Linked DNA regions of Homo sapiens: region 1 is linked to region 2. The links are contacts of gene promoters, found by promoter capture Hi-C in blood cells and fetal thymus (Javierre and others, 2016). All regions are on one chromosome and are shown on one strand. Each heading gives the region's core, a stretch centred on a gene start or on the middle of the fragment in contact. The rest is flanking DNA. Distances are from core to core; before and after follow the strand shown. Region 1 overlaps SPIDR (scaffold protein involved in DNA repair). Region 2 holds the start of CEBPD (CCAAT enhancer binding protein delta).

The links. The method cuts DNA at HindIII sites, captures the fragments that hold promoters and counts their contacts. A CHiCAGO score of 5 or more calls a contact.
Region 1: a contact is called between a fragment that was not itself captured here and the fragment with the promoter of CEBPD in region 2, in 1 of 17 cell types (neutrophils). The highest score is 7.8, in neutrophils.

What each region holds. Positions count from the first base shown.
Region 1 is chr8:47,608,747-47,611,596 of GRCh38, forward strand. All of the region lies in intron 10 of SPIDR (scaffold protein involved in DNA repair), which reads left to right. Among named protein-coding and RNA genes, the nearest start is that of CEBPD, 130 kb to the right of the region's middle. RefSeq lists a silencer at 1,735-1,804. The HindIII fragment of the contact is 5,211 bases long and covers 1-2,850 here.
Region 2 is chr8:47,736,630-47,739,783 of GRCh38, forward strand. It overlaps CEBPD (CCAAT enhancer binding protein delta), which reads right to left and starts at 1,535. Exons shown (of 1, transcript NM_005195.4): 1 at 284-1,535. The coding sequence starts at 1,491. The coding sequence ends at 682. RefSeq lists an enhancer at 559-1,497 and silencers at 894-1,083, 1,574-1,683, 1,724-1,803, 1,894-2,363. The HindIII fragment of the contact is 19,422 bases long and covers 1-3,154 here.

The DNA of each region.
Region 1 (2,850 bases), core at 259-2,758, 130 kb before region 2:
TGGAGTCTCGCTCTGTCGCCAGGGCGGAGTGCAGTGGCACGATCTCAGCTCACTGCAACCTCGGCCTCCTGGTTCCAGGCGATTCTTCTGCCTCAGCCTCCCGAGTAGCTGGGACTACACGTGCGTGTGCGCTACCACGCCCAGCTAATTTTTTGTATTTTTAGTAGAGACGGGGTTTCACCATGTTGGCCTGGATGGTCTCTATCTCTCGACCTCATCATCTGCCTGCCTCGGCCTCCCAAAGTGTTGGGATTACAGGCGTGAGCCACCGCACCCGGCTGAGCATCTTTTCATAGGCTATTGGCCATTTGTATATCTTCTTTAGAGAAATGTCTTTCAAGTCCTTTGCCTATTTTTAAAGTTGGATTATTTTTTGTTGTTGAATTGTAAGAGTTCTCTGTATAAGTCCTTTATCATTTGCAAATATTTTTTCCCATTCTGTGGAGTTTTTCACTTTTTTGATAGTGTCCTTTGAAACACAAAGATTTATCATTTTAATGAGGTCCAATTTGTCATTTTTGTTATTATTATTGCTTGTGTTTTCAGGGTCATAGCTAAGAAACCATTGGTGAATCCAAGGTTATGCAAACATACTTCTGTGTTTTCTTCTAAGAATTTTATAGCTTTTGCCCTTATATTTTGGTCTGTGATCCATTTTGAGTTAATTTGTGTGTATGGTCCAACATTGTGGGTTGGACCCTCCTTGTAGTTAGAGATTATGTTTAGTACTAGTAGTAGTCTTTATATTTTATTTAAATGTATATCTTATTTTTGGCATTTGTTACAGTTTGCACTGTTACGTCTTTGTGTGCATAGCATTTCTTCCTTTGTAGGTGGCAGAAAATGGATCCATTTCTCCACCCTTTGTCTCTTTTAGCTTTTATCATTTTATTGATCTAGTGTTTGGTTACAGCTATCTGATTGAAAAAGTAATAGTTTCAGAGTAGAGTTAGAGGTGTAAATAATATGAAAGTAATATGTACACGCTCTTTAAACACTTGATAATACCAACCTGTATCATTTGACCCATGTTATCATTTATAGCTATACACATTGAATAACTTTCTTGGTGAACTTACGGATAATATGAAAACTGCTGTGAAAGTTTTCATGCTCTTTTTTCCTATATATTAAACCAGTGATAGACTTAAAGGGAAAAGTGAAATGGAATGGCAACAGCCTGGGGATGTGAGTACAGACAATTATGAAGTTTTGGTAATAGAATGAAAACAGCAAGAGTAATTTTCCAGATTATGCTATGTGTAACCACCATTCTAAGTTTGCGTCTTAACCTGGCCATGGTGATTTTCCAGCACCTGTCATCCATGAAGATCAAGAAGGATTTCAAGGTGGCCCTATATAAAAGCCATGGAATTTTTTCCTCCCTGTTTCTGACCTCCTTTCTCTGGAAACTTTTGTTCCTAAAAGAGACTGGAGACCTGGAACAGTCTCCCTACTCTTCCCACCGTACCCCCACCCCATTCCTGCAGCTGCAATCTGGAGCAGCACTGTGATCACACTAGATCACACTTTCCTGTGAGTCAGACTGCAGCTCTGGAATGTGCTTTGCTGAGATGACGGCACAGAGAAGAGCCATGGGAGACAGAGCACACAGCCTGGCAGAGTCTTCAGGGGTGGCCAGATGCAAGCACACAGTGCCACGTGCCTCTGTGGGCATGAAGCAGAGAAAGGATGAGATCAAGCCTGACCCAACTTGACTTCCTCCTCTAGCTGAGCCACCGCACCTTGCTGCCCCTCTCCTCCCCTTTTGCCTCTGTCAAATGACCTACTCTGCCCTCTCTCCCAGCTGCTGCTAGACCCAGAGCACTTGGTGCAGCCAGCTGGCGGGTTTGGTAGGCTCACCCTTGTTGTGCTGATTTCTTGGCTCCACAGTTCTCAATGGCTTGAGCCAGCTCAGCTCTTTCTCCACAGGGAACTGGAGCAAAAATCCTGTAGAGCAATTCTTGGGTTGGACACCCCCTTCCCACGAGAGAGGATTATACATGAACAGATGCCCTTGTTTCTTCCTCACTTGCTGCTCTGGCACTGGTATTATAAATGGTCTGAATTTTCACATTTATTTGCACAGATACAAAAGACAGTGACAGATGCTTGATTATATAGTGAGACTAACAACCAGGTATTAAACATTGCACTGATACTTGTCATTGCCTTCAAAATAAGCTCTACGTGTTTTCTTTACTTCAGTTGTCTCATTTAACCATAAATAAGTCCTCAGAGGTCAGGGGCTGTGACTCATCTGGTTTTGGTACTGGACCATGAATGCAGTAGACACCCAGCAAGTATGGGTTGATGGGAAACAGCAATGGCTGATTGAGCAGCTGAGAAGGTGGGGTGAGGTTGTGGCTCCCCTTCTCTTCTCAGGATGAACCAGTCCATGGAGTTGTGCTACAAATGTTGTTGTTTGTCTAAGGAGATTGATGAGAATGCCAGTGAGCTAGAAATTGCCAGGAATACTCTGCTTTGGGACAGAGGTGATGTCTAGTCTGTTCCAATCAGATAGAGGATGAGACACTGGGAACCAAGGTCCCTGAAGAATATTCAGTCAGTGTAAACAAACAGGGAACAGCACAAGGAGGGACACTTAGGAAAGTGGCAAGGGAGGAACAAGGGCAGCTCTTGGGTGAAGATGTTTATAAAGAAAATAGAGGCTGGGCCCGGTGTCTCACGCCTGTAATCCCAGCACTTTGGGAGGCCGAGACGGGCAGATCACGAGGTCAGGAGATCGAGACCATCCTGGCTAACACAGTGAAACCCCGTCTCTACTAAAAATACAAAAAATTAGCCAGGCATGGTGGCTGGTGCCTGTAGTCCCAGCTACTTGGGAGG
Region 2 (3,154 bases), core at 285-2,784:
TCTGCTGGAAAGCTGCTAGCTTACCTGAGCTCAGCCGTGCTCCACCTAGCTTAGGCAAGTTAAATAAGGCCAGGAGAGAGCCTTTAATGCGTTTTAAAAGCGACAGACCCTCTCTCCTGAGTAGCTCGGGCCTGCGCCCCATCCCCCCGCCCCCCCCACACACACACCTGGCGCCCGGGCTCCCTGGTGCTCGCTGGCTGCGGGTCCGGAACGCACCCTTCCCGAGCCGGGTCCTGCGCCACCGGCGGGCGGGCGGGAGTCACTGCGAATATAGGAAGCAGGGGCGATTTCAAATGCTGCTTTATTCTTACAAATACTGTAAAAATTAATATAAAAAAGTGAGCATGCTCAGTCTTTTCCTCTTATCTACAATACAAAGGGTTTGTCTGAAAAGTCTGGTTTTTTTTCTTTTTACAAATGTACCTTAGCTGCATCAACAGGAGTAAGATGTAGAAAAAGCTACCATTACAAAAATAATTTAAGGGAAAATAAACACGTTTAGCTTCTCTCGCAGTTTAGTGGTGGTAAGTCCAGGCTGTAGCTTCTTTGCGCTCCTATGTCCCAAGAAACTGCAGCGGGCACCCGGCGGCTCTGGCTGCGCCAGGGCAGGGCGCGCTCCGCTCCGGGCCGTCGGGTCTGAGGTATGGGTCGTTGCTGAGTCTCTCCCGCCCCGGCCGCGCGTTACCGGCAGTCTGCTGTCCCGGCGGCCGGCAGGAAGGGCGGGCTGGGCAGCTGCTTGAAGAACTGCCGGAGGCCGGCCAGGTCCCGCGTGAGCTGCTCCACGCGCTGGTGCAGCTTCTCGTTCTCAGCCGACAGCTCCACCAACTTCTGCTGCATCTCCTGGTTGCGCCGCTTGGCCTTGTCGCGGCTCTTGCGCACGGCGATGTTGTTGCGCTCGCGCCGCTGCCGGTACTCGGGGCTGCCGCGGTCCGGGCCCCTCTTGCCGGCGCTCTTCTCCCGGGCGGGGCCGGGCGCGGGGGTCTGCCTGGGGCTGCTGCGCGGCGGCTCCGGCGACGTGGGCGGGGTGGGCTGCCCTGCGGCCGCCAAGCTCACCACGGTCTGTGCGCACGCGGCCACCTGCGCGGGCAACAGCGAGCCGGGCGCGTCGCCGTCGCCCCAGTCGGGCTCGCGCTTGAGCAGGCGGGGAGCGGCAGGGCCCGGGCCCAAGGGGCGCGCGGGGCCGCCGGGAAGAAGCTCCAGGGGCCCCGCGCCGCCCGCCTTGTGATTGCTGTTGAAGAGGTCGGCGAAGAGCTCGTCGTGGCACAGCTCCAGGGTGGGCACGGCGGCCATGGAGTCGATGTAGGCGCTGAAGTCGATGGCGCTCTCGTCGTCGTACATGGCGGGGGCGGCGGCGCCTGGCTCGCCTAGGGCCCCTGGCTCGGCCCCGCGGCCCGGCTTGCCCGCCCGGCCCGGTTCGTAGAAGGGCGCAGGCTCCGCAGGCCAGGGCGCGCCGCGCGCCGGGCCGTCCAGGCTGAAGAGCGCGGCGCTCATGGCGGCGTCGGGCCGGGCTCTGCGTCCAAGCGAGGCTGTCACCTCGCTGGGCCCAGCCCCGCCGCCTTTTCTAGCCCCGGCTGACGTGCACGCCCCGCCCCGACTCCGGCACCGCGGGGGCGCCCCGGGGCCGCGGGGGAAGGGGCGGGGGCGCCCTGGGAGCCCCCCGGAGCCGCCCCGAGCCTTCCCGGGGCGCGCCCCCTCTCAGTTCCTCCCCGGGGCCCCCTCCCCGGCCCTGGGGACCCCCAGCCCACGTTGCAGGAGGGTGCCCGCGCTGCTGCTCCCTCCCCGGCCCGGGCCGGCCTGCGCTGCGCTGCTGGGAATGACACTCCCTCTGCCAGCACTCCAGGGCCTTCTCTTCTTCCTGTTTGTGGGCTTGGAACCTCCTCGCTCCTCGGGGTTGGGAGTGAAATCAAAACCAGGACTTGGCCGCAGCGCGCGCGTCCCAGGCCGGCTCCTGTCGCCGGAGGGCGGGGGGTGGAGACCCGTGGGAGAGGACCCGCGCGTCCAAGGACGCCCCCCGACCGTGGGCACGCGCGTGAGGCCCTCGCCCCGCGCCTCCACCGTGGGACCAGATGCGGGAAGAGGCGTGGGGGACCAGACGTGGGGACAGCGGCGGCCTGGCAGGCGGGGAGGGCTGCCCGCACCGCACTCGGGCGCCTCGGGGAATCCGGGCCGGTTCTCGCTGCTCTCCTCGGAGGTCCCGGGTCCGGCCGGCCCTGGGGGTCGAGGCCCAGAGACGCGGCTGCTGCGTCCTGGCCGAAAGGCCGACGGGACGCTGTCGCCAAAAGCAGAGCAGATGGGGGAGACGCGGTCACGACACCGCGTCCTCCGCCGGCTCCTCGAGGTGCGGGCTCTCCGGCCGGACGCTACTCCCCGACCCCGCAGACCCGGGCGTCCGCCGCCAGCTCCCGCGCCCGCGTTTCTTCCAGGTCTACGGAAGCAGTGCCATCGTGTGGCGGCATCTTGCGTTAGACCTGTTTTTAGTTCCAGGCTCTTTCCCTGTTAAATATTCCAAAAAAGTGCCTTGAACCTAAAGTAGTTGGGTCCTTTTTGGGAAACAGGTAAGATCTACCAGTAGCTATAGCAGGGTGCAGATGGGCCTCGACTCACGATGGGGTTACATCCCGGTAGACCCATCGCACACTGAAAATGTCTTAAGTAAGAATGGGCTTTGTCATGTGTCCTGCAATTTGAGGCAGGCATTTCTGGTCAGACCCATTTATTATTTTAAATTAAAAATATGGTTTTTTTCAGCCGAGCACAGTGGCTCATGCCGGTAATCCCAGCATTTTGGGAGGCTGAGGTGGGCGGATCACTTGAGGTCAGGAGTTTGAAACCAGCCTGGTCAACATGGTGAAACCCCATTTCTACTAAAAATACAAAAATTAGCCAAGCGTAGTGGCGTGCGCCTGTAATCCCAGCTACTCGGGAGGCTGAGGCAGGAGAATCGCTTGAACCCGGGAGGCGGAGGTTGCAGTGAGCCGAGATCGTTCCATTGCACTCCAGCCTGGGCGACAGAGCGAGACTCCATCTCAAAAAAAAAATTGAGATGGGATCTCACAATATTGTCCAGGCTGGTTTCAAACTCCTGGGCTTAAGAGATTCGCCGGCCTCAGCCTCCCAAAGTGCTGGGATTACAGGCGTGAGCCACCATGTCGGG